4 separate regions of the Homo sapiens genome follow, and regions 1, 2 and 4 are each linked to region 3. The links are contacts of gene promoters, found by promoter capture Hi-C in blood cells and fetal thymus (Javierre and others, 2016). All regions are on one chromosome and are shown on one strand. The core of a region is centred on a gene start or on the middle of the fragment in contact, and the rest is flanking DNA. Distances in the headings are between cores, read along the strand shown.

Region 1 (2,700 bases), core at 167-2,666, 340 kb before region 3:
ACAATGAGCCTCGCTACTTATATTTTTATCATGCATCTTACATTTTAATGTCCTTACTCTTTTATAGAAAAGGTCATAAAGAATGCCCAACTAATAAAGAATCTCTAATATCTCTGATACAGCAACAACTGATCACATACTTTCACATGTGAATACAATAGAAATAAAGTAACAGCATAAAGTAATTTGAAAGCTGTATTATATTATTATTCACTTTTCAAAAAATTGTTTTCAAGGAAACAAATATACTTTCAATGTAATTACAAAGCTTCAAAAAAACTCCTTTTAAAGTTATATACAAATAATTTAACAACTTTAATTGTGAATTCATTTTTATACTCAACACTCCTATTTAGTGTAATGTCTGAAGTAAAGCAGGACATAAATTTTAAAAGGCAAAGGTATCCCTCTTCCCACACTGCCTGGAAGGACAAAGGTTAATCACTAAAGACAATTTTACGCCTGTTAAATAAAATTCATAGGAAGCCATTGGTTTGGACTGAGCTCCTGCACTAGACTAGGCCCAACAGACTAAACCAAAATGGAGTCACTCAAGTCACTCATGTTCCACATCACAAGGTCAAAACTAAGTTGTCGATCTGACTTTCTAAGAAATCAGGAGAAAGAAAAATAATAGCCAAATTCCCGACAGACCAGTTTGAAGTGACATGATAAGGAAATACCCTCTGCTTTAAACTTTTCAAGGAAAGTAACCTCGAAACAACCAATGCACTTTTCTGTTTCTGCTTTCTTCAGCCCTTTCTGAAAGCCAACCTCCTCCACTCAACTCATAGGAACACTCATTCGATTTTATAAAATGAGGTGTTGCACAATTCTACAATCGCAACTAAAAGCCAATTATGCTCTTTAAACTAAATTAGTTGTAATTTTGTCTTTTGACAAACCTTTATCAGCCAGGAATCTACATGACAAACTTCATTAATGAGCCTTTTTCTATCGCGTATTTGCCTTCCCATAATTTGCCACCCCTAGAGACTCAAAATCATTTTCCTTCTCTTAACACTTCTCTTTTTTTTTCTTTCTTTCTTTTTTTTTTTTTTTTTGAGACGAAGTTTCGCTCTTGTTGCCCAGGCTGGAGTGCAATGGCGCAGTCTCACGGCAACGTCCGCCTCTCGGGTTCAAGCAATTCTCCTGCCTCAGCCTCCTGAGTAGCTGGGATTATAGGGAAGCGCCACCACACCCAGCTAATTTTGTATTTTTAGTAGAGATGGGGTTTCTCCGTGTTGGTTAGGCTGGTCTCGAACTCCCGACCTCAGGTGATCCGCCCACCTCGGCCTCCCAAAGTGCTGGAATTACAGGCGTGAGTCACTGTGCCCGGTTCTCTTAACACTTCTCTAAACATATACTGTTCTTTTTTGAAGATGCTGTATAATCCTGAATTCAAAGCTACCTCTTGGAGATTTGCTCATTTCCCTGGTCTCTCTTTTGAATACGTGACGTACATGTTTTTAAATTTCTGTTTTTCTTTTTTTCTTTCTTTCTTTTATTTATTTTGAGATGGCTTCGCTCTGTCACCCAGGCTGAAGTGCAATGGCACTATCACGGCTCACTGCAACCTCTCGCTCCTGGGCTCAAGCGATCCACCCACCTCAGCCACCAGAGTAGAGTACCTGGGACCACAGGCATCCACTACCATGCCCAGCTAATTTTTACATTTTTTGTAGAGATGGTTTTTTGCCATATTGCCCAGGCTGGTCTGGAACTCCTGGGCTCCCAAAGTGTTGGGATTACAGGCATGAGCCACCATGCCTGGTCCTGTTTGTTTTCTTCTTGTTAATCTGTCTTTTGTTACAGGGGTCTATCACAACCAAAACCTCGGAAGGGTAGAGGAAAACTCTTTTTTTCTCCCCAACATACCATACAATAGAACATTATGCATGCATTAAAAGGAAGCCAGGCACGGTGGCTCACGCCTGTAATCCCAGCACTCTGGGAGACCAAGGCAGGCAGAATATCTGAGGTCAGGAGTTCAAGACCAGCCTGGCCAACGTGGCAAAACTCTGCCTCTACTAAGAATACAAAAATTAGCTGGGCGTGGTGATGCATGCCTGTAATCCCACCTACTTGGGAGGTTGAGGCAGGAGAATCACTTGAACTTGGGAGGCCAAGGTTGCAGTGAGCTGAGATTGCACCACTGCACTCCAACCTGACAGGCTGATCTCAAAAAAAAAAAAAATTACAAAAAAAGAATGTTGGAGCTTGGCGCAGTGGCTCACACCTGTAATCCCAGCACTTTGGGAGGCTGAAGCAGGCAGATCACCTGAGGTCAGGAATTTGAGACCAGGCTGGTCAACATGGTGAAACCCTGTCTCTACTACTAAAAATATAAAAATCAGCCAGGCGTGGTAGCGCACACCTGTAATCCCAGCTACTCAGGAACGCTGAGACAGGACAATTGCTTGAACCCAGGAGGCAGAGGCTGCAGTGAGCCAAGATTACGCCACTGCACTCCAACCTGGGCGACAGAGTGAGACTCCGTCTCAAAAAAAAAAAAAATGGGTCTATAACTAATGTCCTAGTATTATCAGTTGAGAAAAGCTTGTGGTTGCATGATGGGTATAAAATGATCTCATGCCTCTTTTCCTTTCTCTGCCATCGTGGTGTGTTCTTGACTCCACCCTCACCATGTCTTCTCACAAGACTTTCAGGATTAAGTGATTCCTGCCCAAGAAACAAAAG
Region 2 (2,700 bases), core at 113-2,612, 280 kb before region 3:
TCTTATACTTTTCCTTTATAGCATTTGTCATAATTTTTAATTCTATTTAATTATTCATGTAGTTATTTATTTAAAACCTGTCCTCCCCACTAAACTAAAGTACTGATGACTATTTCCTTTTTTTTTTTTTTTTTCTTTGAGACAGAGTCTTGCTCTGTCTCCCAGGCTGGAGTGCAGTGGCACAATCTCGGCTCACTGAAACCTCTACCTCCAGGGTTCAAGTGATTCTTCTGCCTCAGCCTCCCAAGTAGCAGGGATTACAGGTGCATGCCACCACGCCTAGCTAATTTTTGTATTTTTAGTAGAAACGGGGTTTCACCATGTTGGCCACGCTGGTCTCGAACTCCTGCCCTCAAGTGATCTGCCAGCCTCAGCCTCCCAAAGTGCTGGGATTACAGGCATGAGCCACTGCTCCTGGCCTGGTGACTATTTCTTCAATGCCATAATATCCAGTACATGGTAAATAATAAAGCTTAATAAATGTTGAATTAATTGATTAATGAATGAGTTAATTAAATTGTTATTTCAAACAATCTAGTTTTGACCAAATGGCTTTCCACCTCGTGTGGACAGTACTACCAGCTGGAGTACTGGGAGTAAGTTAATAAAAAGCTGGCATTGAAGGACCAAATCAGGGCCAAGTTCTTTAAGCCATGTGATGTCATTTAAACTTTTTTTATCCTGAAGACCCCAGGGAGCCACTGATCCAATTTGTATTTAGTCAAGACGTGTTCCAGGTTGCAGACTTGATGAGCAGTTAGATGCATGGTGGATCCTTAGTTACTGGGATGTGAGAAGGCAGAGAAGCATGTTTGTGAGAGTGAGTAAGGACAGGAGCTATCATGGTGAGAGAGCAGGAGATGAGAGCAAATTAGTCTTACCTTTTTTTTTTTCAGACAGAGTCTCACTCTGTTGCCCAGGCTGGAGTGCAGTGTGTGATCTCGGCTCACTGCAGCCTCCGTCCGCCTCCTGGGTTCAAGCAATTCTCGTGCCTCAGCCTCCCAAGTGGCTGGGATTACAGGTATGTGCCACCACACCCAGTTAATTTTTGTATTTTGGGTAGAGACGGGGTTTCGCCATGTTGGCTAGGCTAGTCTTGAACTCCTGACCTCAGGTGATCCGCCTGCCTTGGCCTCCCAAAGTGCTGGGATTACAAGCGTGAGCCACCTCGCCTGGCCTTATCTTTCGATATGTGAGATTGGACGTGGGTGACACAGGTAGAAATATCCAGTAGGTAATGACATGGAATTTCGGAGGGTGATCTGGGCTGGATATAGAAATGGGAATCGTCTGTGTTTACGTGTTAGTTCAACCCTTGGAGTAGAGATCACCAAGTGAGATGAGGACTGTGGATAAAACTCAGGATCATTAGTGTTCAAGGAGGCAGAGGCAGGCCGGGTGCGGTGGCTCATGCCTGTAATCCCAGCAATTTGGAAGGCTGAGGTGGGCAGATCACTTGAGCCCAGGAGTTCAAGACCAGCCTGGGCAACATAGCAAGACCTCATCTCTACAAAAAATTAAAAAAAAATAGCCAGGCATGGTGGCATGTGCCTGTGGTTCCACCTGCTCAGGAGGCTGATGTAGGAGGATCATTTGCGTCCAGGAGGTTGAGACTGCAGTGAGCTGTGATCATGCCTCTGCACTGCAGCCTGGGCAACAAAACAAGACCCTGTCTCAAGAAAAAAAAAAAAGAGAATTCATGTGTTTTTGTGCATGTCTATACTGTTTTTCTAGGATACTTAGAAATTGAATGGGTTAAGGAAATGTGAATTGTAAAAATTGTATTGTATAGTGCCAAATTACCCTCTTAAAATGCTGTATATCAAAAAAAAAAAAAAAAAAAAAAAGGCTGTATACCAGCTGGGAGCGGTGGCTCACATCTATAATCCCAGCACTTTGGGAGGCCAAGGCAGGTGGATTCCCCCGAGGTCAGGAGTTCGAGACCAACATGGTGGTTGGTCAACATGGTGAAACCCTGTCTCTACTAAAAATACAAAAATCAGCCAGGCGTGGTGGCGCACACCTGTAGTCCCAACTACTGGGGAGGCTGAGTCAGGAGAATTGCTTGAACCTGGGAGGTGGAGGTTGTAGTGAGGCAAGATTAGGTCATTGCACTCCAGCCTGGCTGACAGAGCGAGACTTCATCTCAGAAAAAAAAAGGTCATATACCGTTTTACGCTCCAACCATTTATGTCAGAAAGCTCTTATTTCCCTTACATTCCTTCACCAATGCTGGTTGTTATCAAGCTTTTATCTTTTGCCAATCCAATGAATGTAAAATAATCTCTTTAGCTGTATTTCCCTGATTACAAGTAAAGTTAGTCATTTTTCATGATAATTGGCCATTTGTATTTATTTCTGTGAGATATCTGTTCATATCCTTTGTCTATTTCTTCATTAGATTGTTTCACTGTTTTTTTTTATCAATTAGTAAGAATCCCTTATATAGTTTGATATGCAAAAATCCTCTCTGAAAAAATGTGTCCTCCACCGAGGTCACTCAGGATTACCTCAGATTAAAATAATCATTTGAAGCCAGGTGTGGTGGCTCACACCTGTAATCCCAGCACGTTGGGAGGCTGCGGTGGGTGAATCACAAGGTCAAGAGATCAAGATCATCTGGCCAACATGGTGAAACCCTGTCTCTACTAAAAATACAAAAATTAGCTGTGTGTGGTGGTACATGCCTGTAGTCCCAGC
Region 3 (2,700 bases), core at 14-2,513:
GCAATGGCTTAAGTCCATGTGTACATTACTGAATCATGACGGCCACAATGTAATTTTATAGGGTTATAATCACAACAGAAAACTTACATTCAGCAGTTTGTGTCACCTACAATATAATCTAAAAGACAGAAAGAAGTATTTACCAAATTACCTGCTACTGCTGTTATTCTTTTTGGATTTGTTCCTCCGTTTTAAGGCATCTCTGTCCTTGTTATTGTATGGTAACATGGAGGCATAACCATGTTCAGCTTCTAGAAAACAGGAGGATCCAGTTAATGAATGGGCCCAGAATATTTAATGCTCTCTCCTCTCTACAGTATTTCCTTTTTCCTTTATTTATCTTTAAAAGAATATTGTGGAAATAATTAAATGGAGTAAGGTGGAATTCTGAGAACAATGATTTAAAAAAAAATTGTGTGAATATCGTCAATTCGGAGCAGGTGTAAGGAGGATTCCAGCTGCTCATTGTTGAGAAAGACACAGTAGTGGCTAGGCTCACGCAGCCTGGGTTTCCCACTGGCTACATCCAGCAGGTTGGTGCGGGTTAAGTGGAACCAGCTCAGGCGAAGGTGCGGGGCAAGCACCGTGAGCCGGGGACCGGGAGGCGCTGCTCCTCTGCCCAGGAGACTGGGGCGCCGGGCCCACCTGGGGGCCGGCCGGGACCAGCCCGGGTGAGGTAAACCAGGGAGGCTATCGGAGGGGGCCCCGGCCACCCACTCGTGAAGGGCTGGGGAAGGGGCGGCGTTCGGGACCCCGGCGGGCGGCAGCCCCTTCTCCACCCCATTCATTGCTTTGGGGCAGCGGCGGCTTCCCTTCGGACCGCGCGTGGGGAGAGCCAGAGGGGTTGGGAGCGCTCGCGGTCTCCCCGCCTCCAACCACCCCCGGAGCGGCTGGGCGCCCGGACCTGAGGCCGGCCCCACAGGACCCCCGGCCTCGTTTCGAGTGGACCCCTCCCCGTCCCCGTGCACCTCTCTCCCGCCGCTCCAGATAGTCGGCCGCCTCCAGCAGCATCTGGATGTTCATCCGAACCGCCGCCGCCATTCTGCACCGGGGGCCGGAGCCACGGGACCAACCCCCACTGCCCACGGGCTCGCTGCCGCCGCCGGACCGCTGTGGAGCCCGCTATGGAGCCCGCTGTGGAGCCCGCTGTGGACCCCGCGGAGCAGGGCTGAGGGAGCCTCTCTGGCAACCACGCTCGACAAGAGAGGGAGGGGGCCAGTGAGCTGGGCACCGCCGACACAGTGACAGAACCCGGAGCAGAGCAGCAGCCGCCACCGCCGCGGAGTGTTTATCCCCGACTCACCATCTCCCCGCCCCCAGCCCCTTCTCTTGACAGGCCAGCTTCGGCCGCGTTCCTCATTGGGCCCCCCAAAGAATGCCCCGCCCCTACACTTGTGCGATTGGGAGAGGGCTTCAGGGCTCCACCCCGCAAAGTCCGCTCCTCTCGCTGGTTGGTCACACTTGACAAGGCCCGGGCTCCACCCCCTCTTTCCAACTGGTGACAGGATTCGCAACTCCGCCTCGTGCTCCTTCCTTGTTTCCCATTGGTTCTATACCAACAACCCGGGCCCCCTTTTGCTTTGTTAGTATTGGCCAAGAGCTGCAGAAGGCAAGCACCTCGCCGGTCTCCCATTGGTGAAGCCTTCGGAAACCTCCCAGCTACGATGATGTCACCTTTCTCCAGGCCAGGCGAGCCCTAAGTGGCTGATGGTCAGCAGCCTGGCTGCTCCTCACCGGGTCTGGCATTGGCTGGGAGGGCCGGTCCGGCGCTGGGCGGCGCTGATTCACCAGCCGCTGCGGAGCTCTGCTCCACCCGGCCTTGCCTCGGACCTGTTGCCAAGACCTGTCCCCGGGGAAAACTTCCGGGGACCTGCCAGGCGTCCATCGAATGGAAGGCTGGCACCTCGTGTCGCCTGGGCGCTCTGCCCCGCTTGGGTTCGGGGCCGGAGCCCTCGGTCTGGTGGCCGCGGCCCTGGAGGTTCTGGGCTTCGCGGAACTCGGGCTGGCGAGGGCCCAGCCTCGAATCCTCCCGAAGAGCGGTGCAGGCTAGTGGCCGGTGAGCCGGGAGCTAGGGCAGGCGCCACGTGGCTGCTGCGGGGCTTGAGAAGAAAAGCCGGCCGTTGTTAAATGCTCGCCGCTCGGCGTTTTTTCTGCCCTCAAGAAAGAGCTGGAATCGGGCTGCAGTATACAGCATTGAGCTCATGCGCCTTTTCCGCACCCCCCTCCACCCCCGGGAAGTGATGGAATAATTAATTACTTTCACGCGAGCGGCTTTTTAAAGCTCAGAGACTTCCTGAACCTACAGAATGGCATTAAACCCTAAGATTCTTTGCTTAAATCTCTTTTGGGGTTTTCCCCTCCCTTTTAATTCTAGATGAAAACACTCACAAGATTATTGTTTTTGTTTGTTTGTTTTGAAAGGGAGTTTTGCTCTTGTCGCCCAGGCTGGAGTGCAATGGCGCGATCTCGGCTCACTGCAACCTCCTTCTCCCGGGTTCAAGCGATTCTCCTGCCTCAACCTTCTGAGTAGCTGGGATTACAGGTGCCCACCACCACGCCCGGCTAATTTTTGTATTTTTAGTAGAGACGGGGTTTCACCATGTTGGCCAGGCTGGTCTCGAACTCTTGACCTCAGGTGATCCACCCACCTCAGCCTCCCAAAGTGCTGGGATTACAGGCGTGAGCCACCGCACCCGGCCA
Region 4 (2,700 bases), core at 21-2,520, 360 kb before region 3:
AGGGTTCAAGCGATTCTCGCGCCTCAGCCTCCCAAGTAGCTGGGATTACTGGCACACGCCACCATGCCTGGCTAATTTTTGTATTTTTAGTAAAGACAGGGTTTCACCATGTTGGCCAGGCTGGTCTCAAACTCCCGACCTCAAGAGATCCACCTGCCTCAGCCTCCCAAAGTGCTGGTGAGCCACCATACCCAGCCTAAACTGGTTTTTGTTTTTTTTTTCTGAGACAGAGTCTCGCTCTGTTGCCAGGCTGGAGTGCAGTGGTGCGATCTTGGCTCACTGCAACCTCCGCCTCCCGGTTGAGGCAATTCTCCTGCCTCAGCCTCCCAAGTAGCTGAGATTACAGTAGCTGGGATTACAGACATGCGCCACCATGTCCAGCCAATTTTTGTGTATTCAGTAGAGATGGGGTTTCACCATGTTGGCCAGGATGGTCTTGATCTCCTGACCTCGTGATCCGTTTGCCTTGGCCTCCCAAAGTGCTGGGATTACAGGCGTGAGCCACTGCGCCCAGCCTAAATTGGTATTATAAGTAAAAATATATCCCATTGCAAAACAAGTCTACAAATGATGGAAATTAATTAGTATTTACCAACATTTAGCATATACATAACAGTATTACTTTACAAATTGTCTTCATTAAAACCACAAAAGGAAACAAATATGAATACCTCAACATATCTGTTAAGAATAAAACTAGAAAAAAACACTCTTTTGACAAACCATGAGTTTAATCCCCTACCTATCAAATATATCTTGGCAGTTTTATCAGCATATTAACATTCACAACTGTGGTAGGGAAGAAGTCATTTTTACTCAGAACCAAAGTTTACACTATTTTGCTAAAGTAGCTAATGCCATGATCTGATGAAGGACTTTGAAGTTTCTATTCAATGGAAGGATTTTTTTTTTTTAAGATGGTCTCTGTTGCCCAGGCTGGAGTACAGTGGCATGATCATGATTCACTGCAGCCTTGACCTCCAAGGCTCAAGTGATCCTCCCACCTCAGCCTCCCGAGCAGCTGGGACCACAGGCGCGCATTACCATGCCTGGCCAACTTTTTAAAAATTTTTTGTAGAGATGGGGTTTCACCATGTTGCCCAGGCTGGTCTAGGCCTTTGTAATTTTTTAATAACACTACATGTTAAATTGGTTGCATTTACTTTTGAACTCTTAATCTTTTGCTTGTTCTGTTCTACCAGTGTCTTGACAGTTAATCATGATCTTTGCACAGTAGATGCAGAACTAGTTCTGAAGTTTTGCTGCCTGTTAATTACCATTTGGATGCTTTAAAACCCTACAGGTGATTCCAATGTGCAGCCAAGGTTGAGACCACTGTCTTAAGATTTCAGCAACCAATTTCTCACCCAGAATGCTACAGTAAATGAAACACTTAACTCTTTGGACATATGCTGGACTTGGTTAACTTTGGTGTCATTCCAAGTATTCTGTTCTAGTGCCAACTGCTCAGGAGTTATTTAAGTTGCCTCTGCTGTTAGGCTGTCTGTGCTTATTATCAAGATTACTTCTAAAGTTCTTACTAAGAGAACTGAGAAAGTTCTAAAAGAAAGATCCTTGCAAAATGGATCTGCTTTGATACAGATTGGGCTTCTTAGGACTTCTAAGGCACTAAAACCCTTTGTAGGCATTTTCACACCCACATTGGTGATTCCCAACCCTGGGTGCACATTAGAAACTTTAAATAGCTACAATGCTAAGGTCCTATCCTCAGTCTTTGAATCTGAATCTCTGGTTATGGGGGGGTCTCAGTATTTTTAAAAGCTCCTGAAGTGAGGATTTAATACTAGAATGCCAGTTTCTTAATTCAGTAGCCCATATTTGCTTTTCATTTTACTTGAGATTTTTGTTTAACATCTTCAAGTTACATTACTAAGACTTCTAAATTTCACCCCTAATCAAATCAAGACAGAAGAATCAAAAGACAACATTCTGAAAGTCAAGGCTTTAGGCATGGGCACACGTACTTCAAACCGGTATGAAATTACTAAGAGTCAGGCATAAGACACCAGCTCCCATAAATTTTATCTGACTGAAGATTATATCTAGCTGTAAAATTCAAAAGGACTACTCCCCAACTAAGATGTCTTTAAGTTCTCCCTCAGGTACTCACCTTAAAATGCTCTACAATTTTGATCAAAATCCAGCGCGCCACTCCCAGACCTACTGAATCAGAATCTTCAAGAGAGGAGCTTGAGAATCCATATGGTTTAACAAACTCCAGGTGATTATTTTTATTTACTTTTGAGACGGAGTTTTGCTCGTGTTGCTCAGGCTGAAGTGCAATGGTGAGATTGGCTCACTGCAACCACCACCTCCTAACTCCAGGTGATTCTTATTATCAGACAAGTTTAAGAAAAACTCCTAATGGATAGTGAAAGAATACTTAAGAAATTTTGGAGATGGCATAAGTGCAATAGCTATACCTTCACACTTAATTAGAACCGTGTGTTTTCCTATGACCAGCAGGGATTACTTTTATTAAACAATGATAATGGCAAAATATCTGGTTCAAAATCATCTCTGCTCAGATTTTGTTCTTTTTTGCCACTGATAGTCATTTGGAACTAGGAGGGGAAAAAGGAGTGTGTCACTTCATAGTTCAGTTTTAAGTTTCTCATATAAGCCATCCTGATCAATCATGTCTGTGTGCCCGTTCCAGCGGTGATAGGCAAGGAGTGC

The links. Contacts are between HindIII fragments. The CHiCAGO score rates a contact against its expected background, and 5 or more counts as called.
Region 1: a contact is called between a fragment that was not itself captured here and the fragment with the promoter of MXD1 in region 3, in 5 of 17 cell types (total B cells, fetal thymus, naive B cells and 2 more). The highest score is 7.7, in total B cells.
Region 2: a fragment that was not itself captured here is called in contact with the fragment with the promoter of MXD1 in region 3 in 10 of 17 cell types (naive CD8 T cells, total CD8 T cells, naive B cells and 7 more); the score reaches 14.6 in naive CD8 T cells.
Region 4: a fragment that was not itself captured here is called in contact with the fragment with the promoter of MXD1 in region 3 in 3 of 17 cell types (non-activated CD4 T cells, naive CD8 T cells and total B cells); the score reaches 6.9 in non-activated CD4 T cells.

Annotation. Positions count from the first base shown.
Region 1 is chr2:70,253,957-70,256,656 of GRCh38, reverse strand. It overlaps the pseudogene RPL39P15. Among named protein-coding and RNA genes, the nearest start is that of MIR1285-2, 2.3 kb to the right of the region's middle. The HindIII fragment of the contact is 2,291 bases long and covers 271-2,561 here.
Region 2 is chr2:70,196,601-70,199,300 of GRCh38, reverse strand. No RefSeq gene overlaps it. Among named protein-coding and RNA genes, the nearest start is that of C2orf42, 6.9 kb to the right of the region's middle. The HindIII fragment of the contact is 1,775 bases long and covers 475-2,249 here.
Region 3 is chr2:69,913,672-69,916,371 of GRCh38, reverse strand. MXD1 (MAX dimerization protein 1) reads right to left here and starts at 1,263. Exons shown (of 6, transcript NM_002357.4): 1 at 969-1,263; 2 at 152-251. The coding sequence starts at 1,041. RefSeq lists a silencer at 660-889 and enhancers at 1,540-1,739, 1,840-1,949, 1,432-2,037, 2,050-2,099. The HindIII fragment of the contact is 7,248 bases long and covers 1-2,700 here.
Region 4 is chr2:70,277,306-70,280,005 of GRCh38, reverse strand. It overlaps PCYOX1 (prenylcysteine oxidase 1), which reads right to left. Exons shown (of 6, transcript NM_016297.4): 6 at 1-2,700. The coding sequence ends at 2,614. Among named protein-coding and RNA genes, the nearest start is that of SNRPG, 15 kb to the left of the region's middle. The HindIII fragment of the contact is 6,133 bases long and covers 1-2,700 here.